Linked DNA regions of Homo sapiens: regions 2, 3 and 4 are each linked to region 1. Evidence: promoter capture Hi-C in human tissues and cell types (Jung and others, 2019). All regions are on one chromosome and are shown on one strand. Each heading gives the region's core, a stretch centred on a gene start or on the middle of the fragment in contact. The rest is flanking DNA. Distances are from core to core; before and after follow the strand shown.

Evidence for each region. The method cuts DNA at HindIII sites, captures the fragments that hold promoters and counts their contacts. A contact is called where the count stands out against the background at its distance.
Region 2: a contact is called between a fragment that was not itself captured here and the fragment with the promoter of TUBB6 in region 1, in 1 of the 25 tissues and cell types used here (pancreas).
Region 3: a contact is called between the fragment with the promoter of CHMP1B here and the fragment with the promoter of TUBB6 in region 1, in 1 of the 25 tissues and cell types used here (IMR-90 fibroblasts).
Region 4: a fragment that was not itself captured here is called in contact with the fragment with the promoter of TUBB6 in region 1 in 2 of the 25 tissues and cell types used here (IMR-90 fibroblasts and pancreas).

The regions. Positions count from the first base shown.
Region 1 is chr18:12,303,975-12,311,687 of GRCh38, forward strand. It overlaps TUBB6 (tubulin beta 6 class V), which reads left to right and starts at 4,267. Exons shown (of 4, transcript NM_032525.3): 1 at 4,267-4,375; 2 at 4,713-4,821; 3 at 6,969-7,079. The coding sequence starts at 4,319. It also overlaps the pseudogene RNU6-170P. RefSeq lists silencers at 3,753-4,242, 4,333-4,432, 4,453-4,802. The HindIII fragment of the contact is 9,027 bases long and covers 1-7,713 here.
Region 2 is chr18:11,990,662-11,998,333 of GRCh38, forward strand. All of the region lies in intron 1 of IMPA2 (inositol monophosphatase 2), which reads left to right. Among named protein-coding and RNA genes, the nearest start is that of IMPA2, 13 kb to the left of the region's middle. RefSeq lists an enhancer at 5,149-5,198. The HindIII fragment of the contact is 3,794 bases long and covers 3,404-7,197 here.
Region 3 is chr18:11,848,393-11,855,211 of GRCh38, forward strand. CHMP1B (charged multivesicular body protein 1B) reads left to right here and starts at 3,021. Exons shown (of 1, transcript NM_020412.5): 1 at 3,021-6,052. The coding sequence starts at 3,120. The coding sequence ends at 3,719. All of the region lies in intron 5 of GNAL (G protein subunit alpha L), which reads left to right. RefSeq lists enhancers at 2,874-3,113, 3,382-3,431 and a silencer at 3,438-3,732. The HindIII fragment of the contact is 16,832 bases long and covers 1-6,819 here.
Region 4 is chr18:11,929,881-11,937,373 of GRCh38, forward strand. All of the region lies in intron 2 of LOC101927511 (a long non-coding RNA gene), which reads right to left. Among named protein-coding and RNA genes, the nearest start is that of MPPE1, 25 kb to the left of the region's middle. The HindIII fragment of the contact is 7,294 bases long and covers 1-5,247 here.

The sequences.
Region 1 (7,713 bases), core at 3,017-5,516:
CTGAGGCAAGAGAATCACTTGAACCCGGGAGGCGGAGGTTTCAATGAGCCAAGATTGCACCACTGCACTCCAGCCTGAGCGACAGAGTGAAACTGTGTCTCAAAATAAATAAATAAATAAATATGAAACGCTTCATGAATTTGCATGTCATCTTTGTGCAGGGCCACGTTAATCTTCTCTGTATCATTCCACTTCTAGTATACTGCTGCCAAAGCAAGCACGAAATATTATTTTGCAAAAGAATTAGAACCCAAGAGAATACATTTAACTTGACTGCGCAAACACAGTCTAGTGTTTAGCAGATCCCCGGGCCGCCTTTATAAACTTTGACTCCCCCATTTGTAACCAAGACTGCTCAGGCCGACTGACCTAAGAACACCATGGATCATGGTTACATTCATCCGCCCATCGATACTGGCCCCTGTGCCCACTCACCAGATCAGGAGGACCATGGCTGCTCTTTCCGGGAGAACCTGCAGAGAGTAAATTCTGACAACGCTTCACTGAAGGCGCCAGATAGCAGGAGAGCTTATTCTCAGCCTAACTCAGAACTGATGCCTGCTTGCCTGGCTTGCTGCTGGGAGCCGCAGGTTCCCTTCCCCAGCGAGGCAGTGGGGAGCAGGAAGTGTGTTCCAGTCCTTGAAGTCCACGTGGCAACTCCCAGGGCCTAGAGAGAGTCAACACTGGGGCACCCCAGCCTTCCCAGCCTCCCCATGGCACCCTCCCACTCTCCACTTCTTGTCCCGGCCTCTGCCTCTCCCTGCACAGTTGGCAGGTGAAATATCCACTTCTTTCTGGAGAAACTCCATATTTTATCTACCAAGAGGAACGTCACATAAAAACACCAGGGTCTGATGTCATTCATTTTTCCAGATTTGGGGGTTTAGTTGAAAATAACACCACTCACGGCCATTACCAGCCTAGTTCAAGAGCCCCATTGGCCCCTCCGGGTCCCCTTCCCCAGGGACTTCTCAGCATTTGGGGAGGACGAGACCCTCCTGTCTTATTCCTTGGTGCAGCCCAGAAAAGGGCGAGAGAGGAAGAAACACTCATCAGCCATCTCCTACGGTCCAGGTGTGTGTAAACACCAGCATTCAAATCTGGGCAGTGAGCCCGGAATCCTCTCTACACATGCATGAAACAGAAGGAGGCGTTCAGAGAAGCAAGACTGTGATCTAAGGCACAGAAGAGACGGGCAAGAGGAGGAGGAAAGTGAGCAGACAGGAGTGCACGGGTAATGTGGCTCGCCCAGAGCACCAAGTCATGAACGCCATCACTGCCTTCGACCCAGGTGAGGGGCCTTGTCCTTGCCTGCCCCCTCCCTACAGGGCCACTGGGATGAGCCCACAGCTCCTAGATGGCACCTCAGCCCCCCGGACCTCAGGAGTCCCTGCCCAGACCTCCCCAAACCTACTCCTAGGGCCCCTTCTTCCCGCAGGGTGGCCTGGGATGGCTGTGAGTGGCTGAGGACTGAAGTGTCCACAGGCATGTACTGGAGACCCATCTCGGCGTGGGACAGAATTGGAGGTGGGGAGAAAGGCGGGTGTTGAAAGTGAGGACTGCAGGCTGAGACCAGCCCCCGCACTTCCACGCCCTGATGCAAATCAACGAGGAGCCCAAGAAGTCTACCGATTTCTTTTTTATTTTATTTTATTTTATTTTTATTGAGACGCGGTCTCACTCTGTCACCCTGGCTGGAGTGCAGTGACATGATCACAGCTCACAGCAACCTCCACCTCCCAGGTTCAAGCAATCAATCCTCCCACCTCAGACTCTGGAGTAGCTGGGTACAGGCATGTACCACCATGCCTGGCTAATTTTTTAACTTTTTGTAGAGACAAGGGTCTCACTATAATGCCCAGGCTGGTCTCGAGGTCCTGGGCTCAAGCAATCCTGCCATGTCAGCTTTGGAAGTTTTGGGATTACAGGCGTGAACCACTGTGCCCGGCCTAGCCTGAGAATTCTAAACTGGAACCTGGCTTTCCAGATACCATGGTGTATTTTTTAAGGTAGGAGAAGAGAATGTGTCCTCTACGCTTTTTTAAGTTTGGTTTGCGGCTTGTGTGCATTTGGACACACCGCGTCACAAACAGCCTCGCCCAGGAGGAGTGAGGGCCACAGATCGGGAGGGTAGGGGGCCCAGAGCCTGGAGAGCCCCAGGCCGGGCTCACAGGTCAGGGTTTCACCTGCCGGCTCCCAGAAGGGAGTGGCCAACAGACACCAGGGAAGTCAGGGTTGGGATTCAAAGAGAGGCCAAGGCTGCAGAGAGACTGGGAGCCACTTTAGGAAAGAAACGTGAATTCAGGCTTTGCACAGCAGAACTGTCCCCATGTCCTGGGGAGGCCTTGGTTCATTCTGCGGGGAAATCCCTTGTGTCTTGCGGGGCCCCGCCTCTGATGAGAGGGAAGGGAGATAAGCTTTGCAGGGGGAAGGTTTCCTCCCGGTCTCCTCACTCTTCGAGCACTGAGTTTCTCCAGACAAAGCGCACTCCGCGGGCACCAATCCCTGCAGACAGCGCAGAGCGCACAGCGAGCAGGAGCCCAGAAACCAGCAGGTCGGCTTGTCCCTTGTCAAATCCAAGTGACAACGGACTTCCGGAAGCCACGCTGACACCTACTTTCTGGCTCGATCAGACCCCTGGACTTAAATTCCAGCCCAAGGGCTAGCACTGAAAGGGTGGCTATTTCAGCAAACGACCAAAGCTTCTAAAGTAGACACTTTCTTTTAAACCACTTGATGGCTGGATTTCTTAGAGAGAGAGACTAAAGCTGGAGGAAGGGTTCTTCCAGGGATGGCACAGGCCCTCCGCTCTCGGGCTCCCCACACTAGACTTCGGGCCGGCAGGATGGGTTAAGGTAGCACTCGTTGGAGTCAATAATTAAGCAATGGAAACAAACAGCCTAAATAAGGGTGTTGAGGACTCAGGAGAAGGTGGCTGATTAATCTCAGGCTCATAGTTTGAAATGGGAGCGCAGGGGCTGGGCTGTGGCCTCCTCATCTGCTCCCTGGGCGTGTGGCTGTGTAAAGAGGTGTGGGGACCCACAAGAAGGCCGAGGAGCAGCACTGGGGTGGAGAGAGCAGTGGGGAGGCGGGGACCCAAGGGTTAAAAAAAAAAATTCCTCAATTTGGAAACATTTGCAAAACTCCAGAAGAAAAACTTTTAAAAGTTCTCCACTCCCTTCCAAACGTACAAACATGCACACACACAATTAGGAATTTCCCAAAGTTTTCATCTGTCTAAAAAGAAAGTGCCAGTGCAAATTACAGAACATCGTCGCTTCCTCATGTGCGGCGTTTCTACGGGCCTGGGAGGGGACGCAGAGGCTACCCCGGTGGTCCCAGCCTGCAGCGTTCACGTGAGGAAACTTCCGCAAAAGCCCTGATGCATGCACATTCTGACTGCAGAGGCCAGAGCATCCCGCATTTTGGAGGCTGAAAGGCTCCCCTAGGATAACCTTTTCCGTTAACAGAGGAGTCCGCTGAAGCGCAGAGCTAACTGAAAACAGCTAGAATTAAAATCCAAGTCACCCGGCCGGCATCAGCAGTCATTCCTTTCCACCACACAAAACTGGCCAGGAAGACGGACTCTGGCGCGCCCTCCCAGGCCGAAGCGCATTTCTTCGCTAACGCGCGAGGAGTAGGCTGCATAGACCCGGCGCAGGAGGTGTTCATTTTCGGATCCAGCCCTGTAGTCACTTTAGCTAAACCCGGTTCCAAAGGGGTGGGAGTCGTCGGAGAGGAATGGCCTCTGTATCTCCGGAGACGGAAACACCAGGACGAAGAGGCCCTAAGAACGTGTGCCCGGGGTGCGACCGGGGGGTGGGGGGCAGGGGGCAGAGACCCTGAAAAGCTCCACCGCCGAACCCCAGGGCAGTGTCCCGGCTTGGCTGGACTGGGCGCGGGCGGCTGCAATGCTCCCGGGCGCGGCGCTGGGACCCCGCGGGCCACGTCGGCTCCGCTGCCCCGACGCCAGGGCCCGACTCGCGTCTCCCTCTGGCGGGGCACCACAAGGGGCAGCGAAACGGTGGTGGGGGCGGGCGCCGCGCTCCTTCCCGTCTCCTCCCCGCCAGCTCCGGGCCCGTCCTTTTCCGCCCGGCTCCCGGCAAGGGTCCCCCGACTGGCGCCCGCGCGTCCTCCCTCGGCTGCTGCAGGCCGGGCCGCGGCGTCGAGCGGGGGCGGCGGGGCGGGGCCCGCAGCCATTGGCGAGCGGCGGGGCGGGGGCGGGGGCGCGGAGGGTCGGCCCCGGGACGCGCGCAGCCGGCCCGCAGTTGCCGCTGTCGTCCGCAGAGCCAGTTCCTAGCGCAGAGCCGCGCCCGCCATGAGGGAGATCGTGCACATCCAGGCGGGCCAGTGCGGGAACCAGATCGGCACCAAGGTGGGCCTGGCGCGGTGCAGGGCCTCTCCGCGGGTCGGCTGCTGGCGGGCCCCGGGTCTCCCGGCGCGACCCCCGCCGGGGCGCGCACCCGCTGTGCGCCCCTGGGTCCTCGGAGCCCGGTGCGGACCCGCGAGGGCCGCAGGGAGGGAGCGCCCGGGGCGTGGCCGGCCGGGGACCTTCTACTCTTCGCTCCCCACCCCCATCCCAACTGGGAGCGGCTGCCGGCGGCTCAGGCGCGCCTGGAATTCGGCCGCCGGGGCGCCTGGGGTGGGCGCGGGTGGCGGCGTCCCGGGCTCTGGGTTCTGAGCGTCTGTCCCCCCGCCTTGCCCTGCCCAAGTTTTGGGAAGTGATCAGCGATGAGCACGGCATCGACCCGGCCGGAGGCTACGTGGGAGACTCGGCGCTGCAGCTGGAGAGAATCAACGTCTACTACAATGAGTCATCGTGTGAGTAGCAAGGCCGCCGCGCCCTGCCCGGCCGGGACCCGCGTGGACGCTCCGGCGCCGCCTCTTAGCGCGGCGAGTTTGCTTCGGGAAAAGTTCTCTCGGGGTGTAGCAGGATGCCCGGCCACTCCCTTCGCTCCTCCGGGGCGGGAAATCCGCCGTCAGTTTATTCAAACAGCTCGATTCAGCCTATCCTGAGGGTCTGAGCGCTTGAACGGGACCACCCGTTAGCGTTGTGAAATCAACGTAGCGGTTCCTGCCCAGCCTTCTCTGTCTAGCCGGGCGCGGTGGCTCAAGCCTCTAATCCCAGCGCTTTGGGAGGCCGAGACTGGAGGATCATTTGGGGCCAGGAGTTCAGGACCAGCCTGGGCAGCATAGGAGACCACCCCCCGCCCCCCTCCCGCCCCGATCTCTACAACAATTTTAAAATTAGCCGGGCTTGGTGGCCCACCCCTGTAGTACCAGTTAACTGAGGGCTTGAGCTCAGGAGGTCGAGGCTGCAGTGAGCTGTGATCGCGCCACTGCACTCCAGCCTGGGTGACAGAGCGAGACCCTGTTAGAATAAATTAGAGCGTTTCTCAAGGATCCTTGGGAAAAACAAAGCTTCCCCCCCCCCCCCCCCAGTTTAAAACGTATCTCTTATTGGGGATTCTTGGCTAAAAATTTGAGAAACGCTCTCTTAAGTGACTTTTCTGGTCCCTTGCAGACCTCTAAAAAGACTTTAACCTCCCTGGAAGCTGAAACTCCAGGCAGTTCTCAGCAACGAGTGGAGTTTTATTCATTTACGCAGCAATGACAAAAGGCTGGGAACATCAGGGCATGGAAGATGAAATTTCTAGAGGACACTAAGGATAGTTCCAGTATACACTGCACTTCATGTTAATCCCTCACCCAGCTTGGGTACATCCATTTTCGATCTTGGCGAGTGCACTGCAGGACAGGAGTTGAAGAGCAGGTCCTATCTGGAATCATATTAACCGTGTCCTCACCGGGAACAAGTTCTAGCCCAATTGGCATGAAATTTCCACACAAGAACACTCTGACTCAAAATGAGAGTGACTCTGGGGAAACAGCCAGTGGCGTGCTCCGGGTAACAAGGTTCTCAGACTGCACATGGGCACATGTATGTGTATGCATGGGGGAGGTGTCACAAAGCAGAGAATTTCATCCAAACCTGGCAATTTGCTGTAAATACCTAGTTTATTTCCATGGAGCTAAAGTTGTAAAACTTCCTAACAGGAAAGAGGTGTCAGGGTGAGCTGGAAAATACAGTAGGCAGGAAGTCAGGGGACTTGATTTCTCATCCTGCCTCTTCCTGGAACCTCCTCTGCCAGGTCATGCCTGGACTCGTTCCTCATTCCAGTGTTAAGGTTCTAGGATTTTTTTTCTTTCTTTTTTTTAAGAGACAGGGTTTCGGCCAGGCACGGTGGCTCACCCCTGTAATCCCAGCACTTTGGGAGGCCGAGGTGGGCAGATCACAAGGTCAGGAGATCGAGACCATCCTGGCTAACACGGTGAAACCCCATCTCTACTGAAAATACAAAAAAAATTAGCCGGGCGTGGTGGTGGGCACCTGTGGTCCCAGCTACTTGGGAGGCTGAGGCAGGAGAATGGCATGAACCCAGGAGGCGGAGCTTGCAGTGAGCCGAGATCACACCACTGCATTCCAGCCTGGGCAACAGAGCGAGACTCCATCGCAAAAAAAAAAAAAAAAAGACAAGGTCTCACTCTGGAGTACAGTGGCATAACCATGGCTCACTGCAGTCTTGACCTCCTGGGTTCAGATGATCCTGCCACCTCAGCTTCCAGAGTAGCTAGGACTAGAGGTGCACACTACCACACTTAGCTAATTTTCTTGGTTTTTTGTTTGTTTGTTTTTAGAAACAGGGTTTTGCTCTGTTGCCCAGGCTGGTCTTGAACTCCTGGGCTCAAGCGATCTGCCCACCTCAGCCTCCCAATGTGCTGAGATTACAGGGATGAGCCAGTGCGCCCAGCCAATTCTGTGATTCTAAGAAAGTTCCTGTACCCTTTCTGAAAAGACCCTGGTTGATCCATTCCAGGCAGCTAGAACTGGTGGGACTTGAAACGGGGAAGTCAATTACTTTAGAAACCTGAAAGTAACTCTTGTGGGTGGTTCTTTTCTCCTCCAGCTCAGAAATATGTGCCCAGGGCCGCCCTGGTGGACTTAGAGCCAGGCACCATGGACAGCGTGCGGTCTGGGCCTTTTGGGCAGCTTTTCCGGCCTGACAACTTCATCTTTGGTAGGTTCCATCTTTCTCACTTTCTTCTTCTTCTTTTATTTTTTTAAATCAAATATTTTATATGCCAGATTTAAAGCATCATGTGTCATAGAAAAAGTGTGAATGGAAATCAGTGGTTCCCAGCCCCACCCCTCCCATCCCTAGCTGGGTTCATCACAAGGAACAGTTTTTTTTAAATCTTGACTTTTTTGGTGGGAAGGAACCTCTATATCTCTAAATGAAATTCTTCTACTGGTAGTTCTTGATTAAAAAACAAAAATCAAGCCAGGCGCGGTGGCTCATGCCTGTAATCCCACCACTTTGGGAGGCCAAGACGAGCGGATCACGAGGTCAGGAGATCAAGACCATCCTGGCTGACACGGTGAAACCCTGTCTCTACTAAAAATACAAAAAATTAGCCGGGCATGGTGGCACGTGCCTGTAGTCCCAGCTACTCGGGAGGCTGAGGCAGGAGAATCGCTGGAACCCGGGAGGTAGAGGTTGCAGTGAGCTGAGATTGCACTACTGCACTCCAACCTGGGTGACAGAGCGAGACTCCATCTCAAAAATAGCAAAAAACAAAAAAACAAAAACCAAGAAACAATTTTAGACATTAGCTTCTTTTTCCCCATCATTATAAAGTTATTTTGCCATT
Region 2 (7,672 bases), core at 4,051-6,550, 310 kb before region 1:
GGACTTCTGGGTTTCTGGCTCATGCAGCTGGCTGGCTCTCATTGCTTTTGAGAGAAATGTGAGCTGGAGAGGGATTAGGAAGTAATCAATTGTGACGGCTCCAGCCGTGGGGTCGGCTCTGTTTAGCGATGGTGGACTTGGACTGTGGTGCTGGGAACCCCTTCCCTATACCTTACAGCTGCAGGGCCTTGGGCAACTTTCTCCATTTCTTTTTGCCTCCGTTTCCTCATCTTTAACGTGGAGAATAATTTTTGCTGTCCTCAGAGTTACTGTGTGGAATAAATGTACATGTGAACTGCTCAGAACAGCACGGGGCAGAAGAAGCGCTCTGTAAGCTTGAGCTCAGGCCGTGGAGCTGGGCAGGGTGTGAGGTGGAGGCCATCTCCAGGAAGCTCAGCTGCTGAAGGCAGGTCCGAGGGCTTGCAAACACCCACTTTCAAGGAATAGTGGGAGGGAGATGAGCCGCAGAATGGTGGGGAGATAGGAGGAAAGCCACGAGGGGAGGCAGGGGCCACAGGCCACGGGCCCTGGAACACAGGGAATGCAGCTGGGATGTGGGTGACGGGTGGCTGCTGGCATTGGTATGGAAGGTGCCAGTGCCTTGTCAGGGCGGAGGGCGACTAGAGATCAAGGTGAGGGGAAAAATAGCCACGAGACTAAAGGAGGCGTTGAGGATTCGAGAGCCTGAGGTGGGCTGGCCTGGGAGCCACGTCTGCTTGGACCAGCTCCTCCTCTTCCTCCCAGGGTTGAGGTTGTACAGAGATTTGTGACGCATCAACAGCTGTGAACTGCTGACCACATGTGCCACATGACACCATGTGATAGGCGTGTTATTACCTGGGTACCCGATGAACTGTTAGGTTTTATTGATTGTCACACGTATCAGGTTCTTCAGAGAAACAGGACCGGCAGGAGGTGGGTGGGTCCAGTCTGCAGGGTGGGCTGGCAGCTGGAGACGCGGAGAGACAGCTGATGTTCCAGTTTGAAGGCCATAGGGCAGGAAGAGTTGTTCATGTGGACAGAGTCCCAAGGCCATTTGCGGAGAACCCCCTCTTACTTGGGGGAGGGTCAGCCTTTTCATTCTGTTTGGGCCCTCAGCTGTTGGACAAGGCCTGCCCACAGGAAGGAGAGGGATCTACTTTCCTGATTAAGATGCTGATGCCCTCGCAGAAACACCCAGAACAATTTTTTTTTTTTTTTGAGATGGAGCCTTGCTCTGTCTCCCAGGATGGAGTGCAGTGGCGTAATCTTGGCTCACCGCAACCTCCACCTCCTGGGCTCACGCGTTTCTCCTACCTCAGCCCCCTGAGTAGCTGGGATTATAGGCGTGTGCCAGCACACCCACCTAATTTTTGTATTTTTAGTAGAGACAGGGTTTCCCCATGTTGGCCAGGCTGGTCTCGAACTCCTGACTTCAGGTGATCTGCCTGCCTCGGCCTCCCAGTGCTGGGATTACAGGCATGAGCCACCACGCCTAGCCCAGAACAATGTCTGACCAAGTATCTGCGCTCCACGTAGCTCAGTCAAGTTGACACATAAAATTAACCATCACAACACATTCACTTGTGTTGCAGTAAATCTGGAAGCATAAACATGGGGCGTGTCGTCAGGTGCACACCTCCAGTGGCCACATCTTCCTGACCTGACAGAGGGAAAGACACATCTCCTATTGAAACTGCACTCTGGCAAGGCTCCGGCGTGCTGCTCTGTGGATGATGCACAGGGCCTGGGTTCCAGAGCACATGCCAGCTGCCCTGCAGTGACTGGCATAAAGGTCGGATGGGGACAGGAGCACAAGAACAAGATGGGGTGAGACAGGAAAGATAGTTGGACGTCTCCATGAATATGTTAGCCTAGGATGTCTCTGAAGCTGGTTGATGGTGACCTTTCCTTTTAGATTTGAAATTCAGGCTTCAGTGACTTCAGGCCCATATTTTATATGTTATACATTAACAGAATGCTACTGGAAGGAGAGACCCGAGCCAGGGGGGTCTGTGAAGTGCATGCTTAGTTAGCGAGTAGCTGAAAAACATTAATTAAAAACCAGGATACCTAACTCATTGCTGGTGGAGTGAGAGTGTTTAAAATCTCTAAGACTGAGGGAAAATAGCCGTGGTAAAGGGGTTCAGCGGGACCTTACCTGGCAACCCCATGTGCTCCCTCGCCCTGTGGACGTGATCCTGGCTAAAGGGCAGGGCTGTTTGAGTCTCGCTTACTGATTTTAGAAATACAGCACTTTTCCTCACTTTTTCTCTTAGCATAGGACAATTCGTGAATTAAACTTTTCTTAACCTAGTATTTTAGCATCCTATTTGCAACGTGTACATTGTATGTACGGTAGGTTCTTATTTTTTGTAACAATACAAAAATTAGCTGAAAAAGTCATTAGATTTTCTCAGATACATGTTCTCACAACTGATACTGGTGAGGTTCTGTGTGTAAATAAGTTTGTGGACCAAGACCTTTTCATACAATACCTCATGTGATTCCTAAAACAACCCAATGTGTTAGATACACTGTTATTACAGAAGAGGAAATGAAGGCCATGAGAACCCATATAGAATTTGAATTTAGAGCTGTCTGATTCTGGAGTGTACTTTATCCCTCTCTACTCCCACTGATGTTATGAAACTGCTGAAAACAAGAATTACATCCTGGAAGGGAATTTTTCATACCCATCTTCATGAAGAGCTACAGGACAAGGCTTCTGACTTTTTTTAGGTTAGCTTAGTGTCATTGTCTGTTGGTGACTGAAGGAAGCTAGCTGGCGCAGCCCCCATGTGTGCAAGGCCCCCGAGTACACCTGATAGAGCCCTATCTGGTGTATATGGGTGCATGTCGCTGGCATCAGCACCCTGCCGGGGTGAGGGTAGTTCCTGGAGCTACTGGGATGAAATGCAGAGCTCCCAACCTGGAGGAGTGCATGGCCCAGTGGAGGAGACAGGGCAGTGACCAAGTACAGTGGACTGTGCAGTAGCTGACCCAGGAAGAGGGGCCTCAGCCAGGGCAGTGGGCGGACGGCCACACGGGCGACCTCCTGGAGCAGCTGTGCTGGAGTAGATGGAGGCTGAGAGCACAGACAGGCAGAAGGTGGCCAGGGATGTCATTGCAGGCACAAGGGATCGTGTCCAAAGACATGGAGGTACAGGAGGGAGGACACTCGAGGGGGCTTGAGCCTGGCATGGGGCATGCTGCCCTGGCTGGGTGTGAAGGGCCTTGCACACCTGATGCAAGACAGCAGCCCGATTGTGAGGCCAGGTCTAGTGGAAGAGGCTGGCCACAGGGTCACCTGCCCTGCTGGTAGGAGGTACAGGCATGTTCGAGCCCCATGGCCTTCCTTATGACACACTCACAAAGAAAGTCATCAGAGAAACTGCAATAATAAATATTAATAAAAGCAGAAAACAGTTAATATTTTAAAAGATTATGAAGGCTAGGTGTAGTGGCTCACGTCTTAATCCCAGCACTTTGGGAGGCCGAGGCGGGAGGATCACTTGAGGCCTGGAGTTTGAGACCAGCCTTGGCAATATTGTGAGACCTCAGCTCTACAAAATAAAAATAAAAATGATCCGGGTGTGGTGGTGCGTGCTTGTAGTTGCAGCTACTGGGGAGGCTGAGGCGGGAGGATTGCTTGAGTTCAGGAGGTCAAGACTACAGTGAGCCAAGATTGCGCTACTGCACTCCATCTGGGGCAACAGAGAGAGACCCTGTCTCAAGAGAAAAATAACAACAGAGCATAACACAACACAGCATCCTGCCTCTGAATCCACTCTTCCCACTCTGTAACCCATGACTCGGCCCTGTTTTCCTGGCGGACACACCCAGATTGCAGCATTCTCCAAGCTGCCCCAAGGGCCCCCAGCACCCGCCTCCTCCACACACACAGCTGTGTATGTTTTGAATGTGGAAAACTGAGTGTATAAATACCAGTGAGCTTCGATAAGGTGACACAAAAGGACATATTACAAAATCTTCTAGCATTTAGTTAACTGTGAGCTCAGTGTGCAGCAGCCAAGGACTCTTTATGCATTCACTCAGCAGGTGTTCCTGGAGACCCCCATGAGGCAGCCCCCATGCAGGGTGCACCATGGCCTGTTGGAGGTGGACAGAGACAGAGAGGGTAGGGTTCCTTACCCAGGCTGGTTGAGCAGACACATGGAGTGATAAGTGCTGTGGGTGCCAGTTGGTGGCTTGTGTAAGTGCTGTAGTCACAGTTGGGTGAGTGCCCCTCTGCCCGCAGAAGCTGGAGGCTCCTCATGTGGAAGGTGATGTTTGAACTGAGTCATGAAGGAGGAGGACAGTGGGCTGGCTGAGGCGGTTCCATCAGGAGACTCCAGGGTTAATGATTCCATGTGACAGGGCCATGGCATTCTCAGAGCTCGGAGGGGAGGGGAGGGGAGCTGAGAAAGGGGTCGGGAAAGGCCCGCAGCTGCTGAGTGGATGGTTTGTTTGGTTTCTTCACAGAGGCCAGTAAGAGGAGCAGGGGAAGTCTAGTTAGTAAGAGGTATGGGGTGGGGTGGTCTGCTCCACAAAGTCATCCAGGGATCCAGCTTTGTCCTCCCTCATTGCTCCGAGGTGTTTCTTCCTGCATGGGCAGCACCACACCTACTTTGTAGCCTGTGGTGAGGGGGAATGGGACACGAGGAAGTGCAAGGCAGTATCCTTTTGAGGATGTGACTCGGAAGTTGCAGGTCTTGCTTTCAGTCCCATCCTCTGGGGCAGAACTTGGTGCTGAGGCCACACGTATCCGCGTGGTGTGCAGATTGCAAGGCAGCTCTGTGCTTGCTCCAACTTGGAGGTTCTGTTCCTAAAAGGAAGAAGGGGAGACTGGACGTTTGGGGTCAAATGGTCTCTGCTACAAGGGCAAATCTGGAAGCTATTTTATGCTCCCTTCAGGGGTTTTGACTTTATCCACATAGTGACAGGGCGCCACCAAGTGCTCTGCTGGGGAGACGCATGGTCACCGTGACCATGTTTTAGGAAGTGCGTCTGGCTGTGCCGGGAGAGTGGGTCTGAGTGCAGGAAGCAGATCTGGTCTAGCTCCAGGAGGTGGGACTTGTGGATGGAAGCACTGGATCTTTTCAACAGGGCAACCAGAAAAACAGCCAGACAGAAGGACCTGGGTGGTCAGCACTCACACAGACACTAGTGTTCCCGTTTGGAAAAATGTTACAGTCTATTCAAGCAGCCCAATGTGTGTTTTATTCATTCTTTCAAAGAACTCTGTGTACCTGCTGTATGTGTATCTGCTGAATGCCAGGGAGCATTCCTGATGCTAGGGGTACAGAAGGGAAGCAGAAAGAGCTCTGCCCTCAGAAGCCTCTGCCTAGGAGAGACAAACAGTCAACAACAAAACAGACAGGAAGGACGAAGGGAAGTAGAAAGAGCTCTGCCCTCTGAGCTCCTGCCTGGGAGAGACAGTCAAAAACAAAACCGACAGGAAGGATGGTTTCAGATGGGATATGGTAAGTTGTAGAAGGATCAGAAAACAGGAAGTCCTTGGGGGCAGAAACAGATTTGGTTAGGATCAGTGAGAAAACCCCAGAGCACAGCAGGAGAGCAACTTGGGGCTGACCTGTCGGAGGTGAGCTGTGAAGGGCTCGCCCTGGGATTTGGGATTTGGAGTTTCCCAAGGGCCCTGGGGTTTGGGATGTGTTCTGTGAGCAGCGGGAAGCCGTTGGATCATTTTCTGCAGTACAGTGATGTGATGTAATTGGTGTCTGAAAATTCCCCATCCAGCTGCTGCGTAGAGGCTGCAAGTGTGGACGAGTGGAATACCAGCCACCCTTGCAGGTAGCTTTATGGCTGCTCCCCATGTGGGGATGCCACAAGCATGAAGTAAAGCCACTGTCTTCTCAGATGGTGGTCCTGGGTTCAGAACCCACCACCACCTGCCCACCCCGCCCGCTGAGGTGGAACATCCTGGTCTCCTAGTGGCTCTCTTCACGTGGGAGTTTGAGACTCTGCTCTAGCTCCATGCTACTGAAGTGAGCACCCCTGCATCAGGGTCACCATAGAGCTTACCAGAAATGCAGCTCTCAGACCCCAGTCAGACCTGTGCAGCACAGTCTGCCCTTCCTTGATGATCCCAGAGGCTCTGCTGCCATATCCTCTCTGGGGCTGTGTCCCCTGGTTAGGCTGCCTTTCTCACCCCAGCTCTATGCACACACTCCCCACAACCCCACACCACACCAACACACACACACACCCAGAAATCCATACACACCCAGAGATACACACAGAGACACACATACCCTGCATCTTCCCACACCACACCGATACACACACACCCAGAGATAGACATACAGACACACCCTGCATCCTCTCACACCACAGCAACACACACACACACACAGAGATACACACAGAGACACACACCCTGACTCCCCCCATACCACATGAACACACACTTACAGGTACACAACAGAGACACACACACATCAGGAATCACCGTGGCCATACATGAGACAAGCTTTGTGCCGAAGGCCTGTCTGGCCAGCTCAGGGTTGAGGGTCCTGGACCATGGGCAGATGCTACGGGAGCCACATGTGAGGAGTGTGAGATTCACAGACAAGGCCTGTGGAGCTTGATTTGTTGAGAGTCCTGTGTGCAAATTGGTGATTTGAGAAAATTGACCTGGTGGCAATGAGCAGGAACTAGGAAACCCTGGCCAGAGGCAGGGCCTGGGCAGTGGGAGCTGGAGGCTGTCATAGGAATATGAAGTCCTGGAGTTATGGCTACCCAGTGGACATGGCTATGTGGACGCTGTATGCTTTTTTTGGTATGACCTATCACATTCTGAATTTTCTATAACATATATCTGTTTTTTTTGCAACCAAGATTAAAACAAAAACTGCCTTGGCTCAGTACAGCGTGGGCCAGCTCTGGGATGTAGGCAGTGAGAAGAGCAGGCAGCCCCGTATGGGGAGGAGCACATGGGAGGCTGAGTTTCGGGGGCTCCTGCCTGTTCTGTAGAATTCCCCGTGTGCTTCTTCTGGCAGCACAGGGCCTGGCATGAGCGGGTCCTTGGTGTGTGCTTATCAGAAGACGTGATGGATGTCACGTCCGGGCACCTGGCCAATTGATGGTCCTTTTGAGAGAAATACAGGATTCTGGGATGTAGCTAGTTTAGGAAGAAGGCTCTGAGTTCGTTTTTAGGTGCCCTGACTTTGTCATCATGATGAGGGAGACACCAAGTTGTTAAGACAGACAGAAATGGGCAAGAGCTGGGCGCGGTGGCTTACGCCTGTTATCCCAGCACTTTTGGAGGCAGCAGTGGGAGGATCGCTTGAGCCCAGGAGTTTGAGATCTGCCTGGCTAGCATAGCAAGACCCTGTCTCTTCAAAAAATAAAAAATGAGCTGGGTGCAGTACCATGTGCCTGTAGTCCTAGCTATTGGGGAGGCTGAGGTGGGAGGATCACTTGAGCCCTGGGGTTAGAGGTTACTGTGAGCTGTGATTGTGACACCACACTTCGGCCTGGGTGACAGAGAGACCCAGTCTGTAAAACAAAACAAAGCAAAACAAAACAAAACAAAAAGGAGAAGAAAGGCCTGGGCTGGACCAGAACTGGTCCCTCTGGAGTTGTCCAGGGACTGATTAGCCACTCTTTATCCCTTCCTGTTTGGGTTTTCCTGGGGTTCTTGGGACCATCCCAGTCCTTGCTCCTATGT
Region 3 (6,819 bases), core at 1,771-4,270, 460 kb before region 1:
CCAAGGAATGTAGCTTCAGGTGATGGCAACTTCTTTTAGCAACCATACTTTTTCTTTTTTTTTCTTTTCTTTTTTTTTTTTTGAGAAGGAGTCTCTCTCTGTCACCCAGGCTGTAGTGCACTGGCGTGATCTCAGCTCACTGCAACCTCCACCTTTCCAGTTCAAGCGATTCTCCTGTCTCAGCCTTCCAAGTGGCTGGGATTACAGGCATGCACCACCACACCCAGCTAATTTTTGTATTTTTAGTAGAGACGGGCTTTCCCCATGTTGGCCAGGCTGGTCTTGAACCCCTGGCCTCAAGCGATCCACCCACCTCAGCCCCCCAAAGTGCTAGGATTACATTCCTGAGCCACCATGCCCAGTCAACAACCACACTTTATAAAGTTCATATTAACTTTGCAGTCAATGCAACTCTGTCTTCTCAAAAAAACAGCTGGAAAGTCAACTTCTTTCTTTAGGCTACATGATGATCATTATTTTATTCTTATTAATTCATGTTCATTGGATTCCCCATTGCCTTATTACTGGTCCCAATACATCCATGGAATCCGGTTTCTAACACTTACCTAATGTGTGGGTTCAGGCAAGTTTCTTAGCTCTCTGTGCTTCCTTTTCATTACCTGTGAACTGGAGACATTTATAGTATCTACTTCATAGGGTTTGCGAAGCTGAAATGAGTTAATTTATGTAAAGTGCCCAGAACAATGTCTGGTGCATAAGTACTTTATTAATGTTAGTTGTCATTATCATCATCATCTATCGGAGTCTCTCATGATTATATTCCAAACCATCTCACCTAGTCAGAATTTGTCATTAAGAAAACTATGGGCTGGGCACGGTGGCCCACGCCTATAATCCCAGCACTTTGGAATGCCAAGGTGGGCAGATCAACTGAGGTCAGGAGTTCGAGGCCAGCCTGACCAACATGGCGAAACCCCAGCTGTACTGAAAATACAAAAATTAGCCGGTAGTGCTGGCGTGTGCCTGTAATCTCAGCTACTCGGGAGACTGAGGCAGGAGAATCGCGTGAACCCAGAAGGGGGAGGCTGCAGTGAGCCAAGATCACACTACTGCACTCCAGCCTGAGTGACAAAGCAAGATTTCATCTCAAAAAAAAAAAAAAAAAAAAGAAAGAAAAGAAAAAAGAAAACTATGGAGCATGACATGGAAGCTGGATAAGAAACTTGTTTGCAAACTCCAAGAAAAACCAGGACCTAAAAGAAGGGAAGAGTGGAATGGAGGGTGAGCAGAGTAGGGGGCCTAAGCTCTCTATATCCACTTTGAACAGATTTCTTCCCCTTTTTTTTGGTTGTTTATATTCCATTTCTAGAAAAGTTTCATTTGGAAAAAGGGTTCTACTGCTTTGCGGGGCAAAAAGGAACCATAGCTAAGCTGCTAACTAGGGTAACATCCTATCCCCTCTGAAATACAATTAAATTCAGCAACGCCATCTGGATTCAGTGGCTGCTGTGTGCAGAGCGCCTGCTGGGCTCCATGGAGAGGGGAAGGAATCAGTGTCTGCATCCAAGTAGTTCACACTGTAACAGGTGACCTATACACACAGACCCCTTGCCAGGCAATGTGCCCTGTAGTATGGCCACACAGAGGAGGAGTCCTGGGGAGGCTCCATGGTGAAGGTGGCTTTTGAAGGACTGGCAGGGTGTCAATAGGCAGAGATGCATGGACACTAAAATCCAGGCAACAGGAACAGCATAGCCACAGGACCGGGCGTCAGTCACATTCTCCCCGCTGGCCGAATGACGCAAATAATGCTCAAATTCCATGCTGCGGTTTGCTTTGACTGGCGGAGGTGGAGGGGCGCGAAAGACGAGCCAGCATGCTGCACAGCAGGTTTAGCCTCCATGCCCGGGGTTTGGAGCAAGAGAGTGAAAACATCAGAGCTATGTCTTCAGAAGGTCTTGTGTTGTGAAACTGACTGGCAAGCTATCACAGGAAGCTAAGCGAGGTGGCAGGCTGCTAGATTAAAATGATCTCTAAACAGAATTCGCTCTCAGAGTTCATTTTCAGCCTACCTCATTAGGGCAGATTTGGTCTTCTCACATTGTTATTGCTGTATCGGAGGAATCTTTCTAAAGAGAAAAGTGACAGCACACATTGCTGCCATTTGAAAGCCAGCATTTTTAAAGGGCGTAATACATAGTGACAGTTTTGATGTATGCCCGTGGGTGTGGGTCCTGATATCTCAACATACTCTGCCTGCATAATTTAAAATGACAGTTTAGCCTGTCAAACTTAAATGTGAGTGAAGTTCCTTGGATATTTATAAAACATCAAAAAGACAGAATGGTGTCAGCAAAAGATGGGTCTTTTTATTACTAAACCACGGGACGATTTTTGGATAATTGCTGGCAACTCACCTAGAAGCTGAACTTCCAGACAAAGTATAAATTTGGTGGTGCCACAGTTTTGAAGATTATTTTCACTCAATGCAATAAAAGGATATTACAGAACTCTAGCACAAATTGTAGTCAAAGATGGAGACGCGTCAATGACCCGTTTGTTTTTAATGTGTTTTAATGTTTTTGTTTTTAATGTATCCATGGTTTCCAGTTCCCCTGAGAAAGTGGAAATTACCCATGCTAATAAAGCAAGCGTTAGTGCGAAGACCTAGCTGATGTTTGGCTGGTTTTTAGCCCGCTAGCCAGTCACCCTTTATAAAGCCTGCCAAGTTTGGAGCGTGGGTAATTTTACACGCGGGTCTCCACAGATCCTGTCTACTTCGGTAGATTTATTACTAGGAAAGTGCGTGGGGGCACTAATTTTTGTGAATTGACTAATGCGTTAGAATTTTAAAAACCGGGTAGAACGCAGCGCAGGAAGCGAGCGTTCCCCGCCGCAGCGCCGGAGCGTCCAGCCAGAATCCCCCTGCATGCGCAGCCCCTGGCGTCTTACGTCCCACAGGCCCCACCCCGGCGCCTTCCGTCCCGCAGGCTCCGCCTTTGGCGCTGGGCTCTGACGTCACCACCTGCGCCGCTCACAGTAGAAACAGGAAGTGGGACCAAAACAAAGGAGCGGCGGCCGGGAGCGGACTTACCTTACCTTCTCTGCCTTCGGCGCGCTTCTCAGCCGGGCCGCCGACCCAAAGGAGCCGTCCGACTATGTCTAACATGGAGAAACACCTGTTCAACCTGAAGTTCGCGGCCAAAGAACTGAGTAGGAGTGCCAAAAAATGCGATAAGGAGGAAAAGGCCGAAAAGGCCAAAATTAAAAAGGCCATTCAGAAGGGCAACATGGAAGTTGCGAGGATACACGCCGAAAATGCCATCCGCCAGAAGAACCAGGCGGTGAATTTCTTGAGAATGAGTGCGCGAGTCGATGCAGTGGCTGCCAGGGTCCAGACGGCGGTGACGATGGGCAAGGTGACCAAGTCGATGGCTGGTGTGGTTAAGTCGATGGATGCGACATTGAAGACCATGAATCTGGAGAAGATTTCTGCTTTGATGGACAAATTCGAGCACCAGTTTGAGACTCTGGACGTCCAGACGCAGCAAATGGAAGACACGATGAGCAGCACGACGACGCTCACCACTCCCCAGAACCAAGTGGATATGCTGCTCCAGGAAATGGCAGATGAGGCGGGCCTCGACCTCAACATGGAGCTGCCGCAGGGCCAGACCGGCTCCGTGGGCACGAGCGTGGCTTCGGCGGAGCAGGATGAACTGTCTCAGAGACTGGCCCGCCTTCGGGATCAAGTGTGACGGCAGAACCCGCTCTGAGGTTTCCTGGCCATAGCCACCCTTTGAAATGCTCTCTGTGTGTTAGAGAGATACTATACCCTAGAAACTCTGAACACGCCAGAATGCTGAAATGCCCTTCTACCTTTGGGTTTACAGCCCCCTCCACATAAATTAAGAAATTCAGTATTTCTGCACTCTTAGCTGGATTCTAAAGTTCTGTATAGCTCGTAATGATGGTATTTTTATAGCAGCCTTTTAACAGAACTAGTTAATTTCGTGTATATGAATCTTTCTCGAAGATCTGGTCAAAACTGTATTCAGTTTCCTGCCCAGAATGATCAGATTGAAGGTGGTTGGTTTTTATTATTATTTAGTGTGATTGATAGTATCTAGAATGGCAGGTGGTGCATAAAAGTTAAAGAGAGGGGAAAGATTACTTAGTTTGGTTATACAGTTATAAACACCATGCAGTGTATTCGGTGGACTGTGCTATTTCTGTTTATCCTTTGGGTTTTGGTTTTTGTTTTTTTTTTTTTTGCCTTCACAGTGAGACTGCAAATGATTGTTCTCATAACGTATATTATTAATAAATGTGGTCCTATAATTTATACTGAAATTACCTTAGGATATTTTTGCATAATACTCTCTTACTGCTTACATTCTATAAATTTTTCACGTGATAATTGTCTTTGCGTAACTGGGAAAAATGCCGAATAACTTCCTTTATTATCTGGAAAAATTAAATTTGTTCATTTATATTTTCTACTTACTAAATTGAGTTTTTAAAAAGACTTAGTGTGACATTTGACAGTGTCTTTCAAACGAACTTCTCTAACAAGTTTATAGTTATTTTCCTGTTTCAACACTATTAGAAGTCTTATAAATTATGCTAATTAGCATGGCAGTCATGTTACACACTCTTAACATTGCCAAAGAACTGTTGATTTCGTTTGAGAAAACCCTAGGACTGTGTGTGTGTAGGTTTTGTTTTGATTTTAACAACCAAAAATAGAAATAAAATTAGAACTGCGTTTTAAGTTCTAATTTGCATTTATTAATTTGTCCAAAAGCAAGAACTCTTGGAAATCCTTGAAAATATAAGCTGGAATGTTTTACTTAGCCATGCAAGTCATTTATGTATACATCCAGCCAGCTGGAAATCTGAGAAGTAAAGAGGTAGGACTGGAAGGAAGGAGAAAGCTTGAGTCTTTAAGGCTAGAGCCCAGCTGTGCTGCCTGCCATCTTCTCAGGAATGGCAGTGCGTATTTTCTGGCTGAAAAGTAAAGCATGTATCCACCGCTTTCTCATAGCCTCGAAACATGGAGAAAAGCAACTTGCTTTTGCCTTGGCAAGCATGCTAACCTAAGTTAATTCAAGTTTTTTTTAACTTACCCTTTCCTTCACTGGAAGATTTTTCCATAAGAGAATTCCATTGTTTCAGAAAATAATTATAGGGGCCCTTCCAAGTTCTTTGAAAGATTCATAACCAACTATTCACTATTATAACATGTTTCCCAGTGTAAATGAGTAAGGAAAAAAAAAGTGTAACAGGTGCGTGCAGATGAGGAGTGACCCTCATATTTAAGTTATTTTATATTTGACTGGACATTGTTCAGAAGTGTGCTTTAAGGGACACTTGTTAGTTGTCTGCCCAGCATCTCTCAAGAATATCCCTCCTGTCCTCCACATGGTTGTGCAGGGCCATGTGTGAAGACAGCATGAGTCTTAACCCCTCTTTTATTTTATTTTTGAGACAGAGTCTCGCTCTGTTGCCCAGGCTGGAGTGCTGTGGCGCGATCTCTGCTCACTGCAACCTCCACCTCCCGGGTTCAAGTGATTCTCCTGCCTCAGCCTGCCGAGTAGCTGGAATTACAGGTGTGCACCACCATGCCCAGCTAGTTTTTTTGTATTTTTAGTAGAGACAGGGTTTCACTATGTTGGCCAGGCTGGTCTTGAACTCCTGACCTCAGGTGATCCGCCCACCTCAGCCTCCCAAAGTGCTGGGATTACAGGCATGAGCCACTGCACCTGGCCTTAACCCCTCTTTAGATTGGAAAAAATAATTACAACTTTAAAAATAGCTTAGTGTTGAACCCTTTGGTAAACTAAAGACCCTTTTATAATGCACATATTCCCAACAAAATTAATATATTTTGTGAGATTAAACAATGCTTGTATATGCTTGAACTTTCTTAAAATATGTCCATGTCATACTATTATGAATGTACATTTTTATGAGTCATAAATATTATTTTCAAAAGCACTACAGGCCCATGAATTACTTCCTCACTTTTGCAGTTGATTACTGAAATGTAAATCACAAGAATTTGTCAATTAAATCATTTTAAACTGCATGTTATTGGATGTGAGTGTGCATCCTGTTTTAAAAAACACTTAAGAAAAAAGAATTGCGGGGCACAGTGGCTCACGCCTGTAATCCCAGCACTTTGGGAGGCTGAGGTGGGCAGATCACCTGAGGTCAGGAGTTTGAGACTAGCCTGACCAACATGGAGAAACCCCGCCTCTACTAAAAATATGAAATTAGCTGGGCGTGGTGCTGCACACCTGTAATCTCAGCTACTCAGGAGGCTGAGGCAGGAGAATTGCTTGAACCTGGGAGGCGGAGGTTGAGGTGAGCCAAGATTGCGCCATTGCACTCTAGCCTGCGCAACAAGGATGAAACTCAGTCTCAAAAAAAGGAAAAAAAAAAATTCTGAGGTAGATTTGGGTCAGAAAGCATGATATTTTTCCAAATTCACCCTCAGTCTTAGCACTTAAATTTTTGTTTGGTTAGTATGGCTTTTTCTTGCATATTTCTAGGATCCCTGGCTTATTTTTGTTGTTGCTGTTTTGAGACGGAGTCTCACTGTCGCCCAGGCTGAAGTGCCACCACGATCTCGGCTCACTGCTGCCTCCACCTCCCAGGTTCTAGCGATCCTCCTGCCTCAGCCCCCTGAGTAGCTGGGACTACAGATGCGCACCAACACACCTGGCTAATTTTTGTTTTTGTTGTTGTTGTTGTTGTTTTAGTAGAGTCGGGGTTTCACCATGTTGGCCAGGCTTGTCTCGGACTCCTGACCCTCAAGTGATCCGCCTGCCTCGGCCTCCCAAAGTGCTGGGA
Region 4 (7,493 bases), core at 351-2,850, 380 kb before region 1:
TTATGAAAATAATCATGATCTGCATTAGTTTTACATAAACATGCAAGAGTCTAATTCTGTTTTTTTTTTAATTTGTTGTTGTTTTTGAGACAGGGTCTCACTCTGTCTTCCAGGCTGGAGTGCAGTGGTGTGATCACAGTCACTGTAGCCTCTATTTCCTAGGCTCAAGCAATCCTCCCACCTCAGCCTCCCAAGTAGCTGGGACTACAGGCGTGTGCCACCATGCCCTGATAAAGGAGTCTGATTCTAGATACCCACACTTCCCCTGCTACCAAACTGCCCTCTGGTTACGATGGGGAAATTCTGAAGCACCTCATTTCTACTCCTGTCCTCCTCCCCCTTCCCCCTCTCACCTTGTACCACTCCTGACACTGACAGCTATTTGGGATGTGGGAGAGGGGCACAGATGGAGACATCCTCCCCCAAGCTGCATTCAGTCCTGTGATTTAAATGACCAGCCTATCAGTGATTGGTGGATGGAATTTATAAGCCATGAGCATAAAGTCACTGCACGCTCAGGTGATTTGTAAACAGTCTCTGGGTGGAAAAAACACATTTGTTCCAAGTGCTTTTCCGATTCTCTTGCTCAAGAACAATCATCACAGAAGTCTTCTGTGAGCAAATGTGGGGAGGCGGATTCCCCACACACCAAGCAAGCAAGTAGTTCTGCATGGACACCCCCTGGGTGTCCTCCAATTCAACTCAGTTCTGACACTCTGTACCTGGAGACAGCATCAGATCCCACAGGTTGAGGCCTCGGTCCCCAGGACTGTCCCACTTCTGATGTCAATCAAAAGCCCCAGGCTGTAACCTGTGCTTCTGGCAGACCAGATATGAATTGGGGTTCCCACAACCCCCTCCGTGGGTTTAATTGATTTGTTAGGAGGGCTCACAAAACTCAAGGAAACACTTTCCTTATGTTCACTGGTTTATAGTAAAGGATATTGCAAAGGATACAGATGAAGAGCTGCATAGGGCAAGGCATGTGGGAAGGGACGTGGAGCTTCCATGCCCTCCCCAGGGCCACCACCCTTCAGGAACCACCACATGTTCAGCGATCTGGAAACTCTCAGAACCCAGTCCTCTTGAGCCTTTTATGGAGACATTATTGAATAGGTGTGATTGAGGACAACTGTGCAGAAATGCGATTGGACAAAAGGGGAATGATCTAATAGTAACAGACTGAGAAACCCAGCAAGGCTCAGCTGTTCAGGTCTTTCTTGCCCTCTCCGCGGAGCATTCCTTCCTCTAGGGTGTGGGACAGGACCCTGTCTGCAATGAGGGTCTTATGACCCACAATCAGAATCGAGTCCCGCCTTGGGCAGGAGAAATTCAGAGAGATTCTGTTTCCCGAGGCCTGCTTCTGAGGCCTAAAGACTCAACATTATAAGGCCAGGCATGGTGGCTCATGCCTGTAATCTCAGCATTTTGGGAAGCCGAGGCGGGCAGATCACTTGAGGTCAAGAGTTTGAGACTAGCCTGGCCAATATGGTGAAACCCCATCTCTACAAAAAATACAAAAATTAGCCAGGTATGGTGGCTCATGCCTGTAATCCCAGCTACTCCAAAGGCTGAGGCAGGAGAATCGCTTGAACCTGAGAGGCGGAGGTTGCAGTGAGCCAAGATGGCACCACTACACTCCAGCCCAGGTGACAGAGCAAGACTCTGTCTCAAAAACAAACAAACAAACAAACAAAAACTCAACATTATAACAAAAGACTGTAATAAAGGATATTATAAGGGAGAGTCAGGAATGGTGAATGAAAACCTATAAATATGTAGGTTTCTTCAATGTAGAAAAACTGCACAATGATAATGTCGTTTCACAATCGGTCAGTAAACGCTGAAATCCCTCTAAGTGTCAAATGTGCCTATGCATCTTTGTTACAGATACCCAGTCATTCATTCCAAATACAAAAATTTTGACAGCGTGAGGAAATATGGTTCAGAAGGAAAAAAAGTTTGATCATGTAACTATGATATGATTTACTATTTCCTCAAATCTAAGACATCATGAACTGTAAGATGAACCACTATTTAAGGCACATTAAGAAAGAAAAAAAAGGATGCACATCGCCTAGGGTCAGACTCACTGCAATGCATGTCTTAGATGAAATAACCCAGCTTTAAATAAAGAAGGGCGGCCAGGCGTGGTGGCTCATGCCTGTAATCCCAGCACTTTGGGAGGCCGAGGTGGGTGGATCACGAGGTCAGGAGTTAGAGACCAGCCTGGCTAACATAGTGAAACACTGTCTCTACTAAAAATATAAAAAATTAGCTGGGCGTGGTGGCGGGCACCTGTAATCCCAGCTACTTGGGAGGCTGAGGCAGGAGAATCGCTTGAACCTGGTAAGTGGAGTTTGCAGTGGGCTGAGATTGTGCCACTGCACTCCAGCCCGGGCAACAGTGCAGGACTCTGTCTCAAAAAAAAAAAAAAAAAAAAAAAGGGCTATTTTCTCCAGAGGAGAGTAAGGATCACAGATGCGTTGATATGTGAATTATTGGCACATGTATTAGCAAACCTCTGTTATCTCACAGCTTCTGAGTGTTTGGAATTCAGAAGTGGCTTAGCTGGGGCACCTGGTGCAGGTCTTTCCTGAGGTCGCAGCTAAGCTGTCAGCCAGGCTGCAGCCACCTGGGCCTGGAGGCCCTGCCGCCACGCTCATCCACATGGTTGTCGGGAGGCCACGCCGCCGTGCTCAGCCTCATGGTTGTCTGGAGGCCCTGCCGCCGTGCTCATCCGCATGGTTGTTGGGATGTCGCAGTTCCCCCCAGCTGCTGGCTGGGTACCTTGCTGCTCCGGAACGGACTTCTTGCCAAGTGGGCCTCTCCATTGGCAGCATGAACGTCTCCCCAAGCTGGCAGAAGCCACAGGCTTTTATAGCCCCATCTCAGAAGTGACACACATTACTTCTACAATATTCTACTGGCCACACAGACCAACTCTGATAAAGTATGGGAGGGAGCTACACAGGGCATGAATATCAGGAGGCTGGGATCATCGGTTATGCTATGGAGAGGCTGGTTACTGCAATACATATTACAAGAGGGGAAGGGAACCTGAAGCTAATTTGTTTTTTGTTTGTTTGTTTGTTTGTTTTGAGACAGTGTCTTCCTCTGGCACTTGGGCTGGAAGGCAGTGGCACGATCATAGCTCACTGCAGCCTCAACCTCCTGGGCTCAAGTGATCCTCCTACCTCTGCCTCTCAAAGCACTGTGATTACAGAAATGCGTCACCACATTTAGCTAATTTTTTAGAATTTTTTGTAGACACAGAGTCTCACTATGTTGCCCAGGCTGGTCTTGAACTCCTGGGTTCAAGCCTTCCTCCTGAACTGGCCTCCCAAAGTGCTGGAGTTACAGGCATGAGCCACTGTGCCCAGCCTGCTTCCAGTTTAGGTTAACATTTATTGAGCACTTACTAAAGCTTAGAAGGGTTAAGTAAACTATCCAAGGTCACAACAGCTAGTAAGGGTGAGAACTGGTACTTGTGACTTTTGACTAATACACTACCCAGCCTTTGTGTCAATGTATATTATTATAACATGTCAACCACTGAAATTTTCTTTTCTTTTTTTTTTTTTTTTTTGAGACAGAGTCTCACTCTGTTGCCCAGGCTGGAGGGCAGTGGTGCGATCTCGGCTCACTGCAACCTCCGCCTCCCGGGTTCAAGTGATTCTCCTGCCTCAGCCTTCTGAGTAGCTAGAAATACAGATATGTGCCACCATGCCTGGCTACTTTTTTTGTATTTTTAGTAGAGACAGGGTTTCGCCATGTTGGCCAGGCTGGTCTTGAACTCCTGACCTCAGGTGATCCACCCGGCTTGCCCTCCCACAGTGTTGCAATTACAGGCATAAGCCACCACGCCTGGCCAACCACTCAAATTTCAGAAGAAAAATTTGAAAACCTCCAAGATTCTTTATATTTCTCTACAATTGTGTGTGTGTGTGTGTGTGTGTGTGTGTGTGTGTGTGTGTGACAGGGTCTCACTCCATCACTCAGGCTGGAGTGCAGTGGCATGATCTCAGCTCACTGTAGCCTCAACCTCTCAGGCTCAAGCAATCCCCCCCCACCTCAGCATCCTGAGTAGCCGGGACTACAGGTGCACACCATCATGCCTGGCTAATTTTTTTGTGTCCCCTGTAGACACAGGGTTTCACCATGTTGCCCCAGCTGGTCTCAAACTCCTGGGTTCAAGCCATCCACCCACCTCAGCCTCCCAAAGTGCTGGTGAGAGCCACCGCACCCAGCCTGTTTCTTTCTTTCTATCTTTTTTGAGACGGAGTCTCGCTCTGTCGCCCAGGCTGGAGTGCAGTGGTGCGATCTCGGCTCACTGCAAGCTCCGCCTCCCGGATTCACGCCATTCTCCTGCCTCAGCCTCCTGAGTAGCTGGGACTACAGGCGCCCGCCACCAAGCCTGGCTAATTTTTTGTATTTTTAGTAGAGACGGGGTTTCACCGTGTTAGCCAGGATGGTCTTGATCTCCTGATCTCGTGATCCGCCTGCCTCTGTCTCCCAAAGTGCGGGGATTACAGGCGTGAGCCACCACTCCCGGCCAGCCTGTTTCTTTACTATTGCCATCACCACTAATTCAGAGAAAGTACTCTCTTGTGTTTTAATGCCTTTAAAGTTTTAGTTTATTTAATTTGTTGTAGTAATTATGTATAATTATAAAAATATCTAGTGTAATGGACTGACTGTACCTTAGCAAAATAAATGCAAAAAATATGAGCATAGCTGGCTGCCAAAACACTTGCTCAAACAATAGTAGGTATCATTTTGAAAAATAGACAGAAGGGGCCGGGCGCGGTGGCTCATGCCTGCAATCCCAGCACTTTGGGAGGCCGAGGCGGGTGGATCTCCTAAGGTCAGGAGTTCGAAACCAGCCTGGCCAACATGGTGAAACCCTGTCTGTACTAAAAATACCAAAAATTAGCCGGGCGTGGTGGCAGTGCCTGTAATCTCGGCTACTCAGGAGGCTGAGGCAGGAGAATTGCTTGAACCTGGGAGGCAGAAGTTGCAGTGAGCTGAGATTGGGCCACTGCACTCCAGCCTGGGCAACAAGACCAAAACTCTGTCTAGGAAGGAGGGAAGGAGGGAAGGAGGGAGGGATGGAGGGAGAGAGGGAGGAAGGAAGGAAGGAAGGAAGGAAGGAAGGAAGGAAGGAAAGGAAGGAAGGAAGAGAGACCAGCAGTGGCTCATGCCTGTAATCCCAGCAGTTTGGGAGGCTGAGGCAGGCGAATCACAAGGTCAGGAGATTGAGACCATCCTGGCTAACACGGTGAAACCCCATCTCTACTAAAAATACAAAAAATTAGCCGGGTGTGGTGGCAGGTGCCTGTAGCCCCAGCTACTCAGGAGGCTGAGGCAGGAGAATCGCTTGAACCTGAGAGGCAGAGGTTGCAGTGAGCTGAGATGGCGCCACTGCACTCCACCTGGGTGACAGAGCAAGACTACGTCTCAAATAAATAAATAAATAAATAAATAAATAAATAAAAATTAAATAAAATAAAAAAGGAAAAGAAAAATAGAAGAATAAAGTAAGGACCTTCAAGAAAAACTGGAACAATTTCCTCTGAAGAGCGAATAGTCTCAGTTGATAGTATTTAAAATTATTTTTATAACTTTACAAAATAAATATAAGACAAAAAGATTGCTTTTGATTTTAGCACAGAGATGCTCCAATATTATCTCTAAAAACTGTCAAGAGTAGAGGTGTAATCACATTCCGTCTATGTAGCAACAACTGAAAGTGCTAAAACTTCCCAACTCCGTGAGCAGGAAGTAAGCACAGAGAGTCCTGACTCCTCTGTGATCCAAGTGCTGATCACTTCCCAGACATCATTTGAACTCACTCTACAAAGAAGCAGGTCTGTAGTTTATGAAAGTAGTTCACTAGGCTGGGCGCAGTGGCTCATGCCGGTAATCACAGCACTTTGGGAGGCCGAGGTGGGCAGATTACGAGGTCAAGAGATTGAGACCATCCTGGCCAACATGGTGAAACCTGGTCTCTACCAAAAATACAAAAATTAGCCAGGTGTGGTGGTGGGCGCTTGTAATCCCAGCTACTAGGGAGGCTGAGGCAGGAGAATGGCTTGACCCCAGGAAGCGGAGGTTGCAGTGAGCCGAGATCGCGCCACTGCACTCCAGCCTGGGCGACAGAGCAAGACTCCGTCTCAAAAAAAAAAAAAAAAAAAAAAAACAGAAAAAAAAGAAAAGAAATTAGTTCGCTAGTTTCCAGTTCATGTTACACAAAGCAATTTTCTTAAATTCCTGAACTGGAGCCATAACTGTGGAAACACTGCAGTCACATCCCAAGGAAAATCAAAGATGTAAAGTTACTAACTGTTGGAACAAACTGGCTCCAGCTGTAACCAAGCAAAGAAAGTAATGTGCCCTGAATCAACTTACTGTCAAATCCTCTCCTGAATTATTAGCAGGGCATGGTGGTGTGCACCTGTAGTCCCACCTACTCGGGAGGCTGAGGCAGAAGAACTGCTTGAACCCAAGAGGTGGAGGTTGCAGTGAGCCGAGATTGTGCCACTGCACTCCAGTCTGAGAGAGCGAGACTCCATCTCAAAAAAAAAAAAAAAAAAAAAAAATTCCTCCCCTGAGCAGGCAGAGCTGGCGAAGTTCAGCCATGGGCAGAGCAGGCTTGGGCCCAGGGATTGAAAGCCAGGGATTACCAGGCCAAGAAGTCGAACAGTCCAGACTACCACACAGTGAGGGCGCTTCCCAGGGGAGGGGTGGAGGGGCCTAGAGTGCAGGTGTGGGACCATGGCTGGGGAGGAGCAGGAATGCCGGTGCCAATGCAGGGCTCAGCAGAAAGCAACCAGATGGTTGTCAAGAAAATAATTGATCCTGAAGACAAATCCTAGACCAAGTGTGCACACTCTAAGCCCAGGTCCTGATTCTACCCTTTCCAGCTCTCCAGAGAGCAGAGGCCCCAACAGTCTGGCCAGTTCTGAGCCCGGCACCCAAGCACCCTAAGACCTCTGAGCTATCTGGCCAACCTCCCTCCCCCAGGGCATGTCACTGTCTTCTGCCACAATTTTGGAGCTTGCAAAGCTTGCTAACAGAATATACACAGAGGTATTTCACTCATGGGTCTTGTTCTAGATGCCTGGGAGATCATAGTGTAACCTGGAGACAAGATTCCCAGTAGATGTTTTTTGATAATTAGAAAACAGAGAAAGTCAGGCTCAGTGGCAGATGTCTGTAGTCCCAGCTGCTCAGGAGGCTGAAGTAGGAGGATCATTGGAGGCCAGGAGTTCAAGGCTGCAGTGAGCTATGATTGCACCTGTGACTAGCCACTACACTCAAGCCTGGGCAACAGAGCACATTCCCATCCCTAAAAAAAAAAGAAAAAAAAGAAAAAAAAAAGAAAAGGGAGAGGAAGAGGAGAAGAAGAAGGAGGGGGAAAGAGGAGAAGAAGAGGAGGGAGAATGGAAAGAGCAAAACAAAGAAAGAAGAAGAAGAAACAAAAGGGGAAG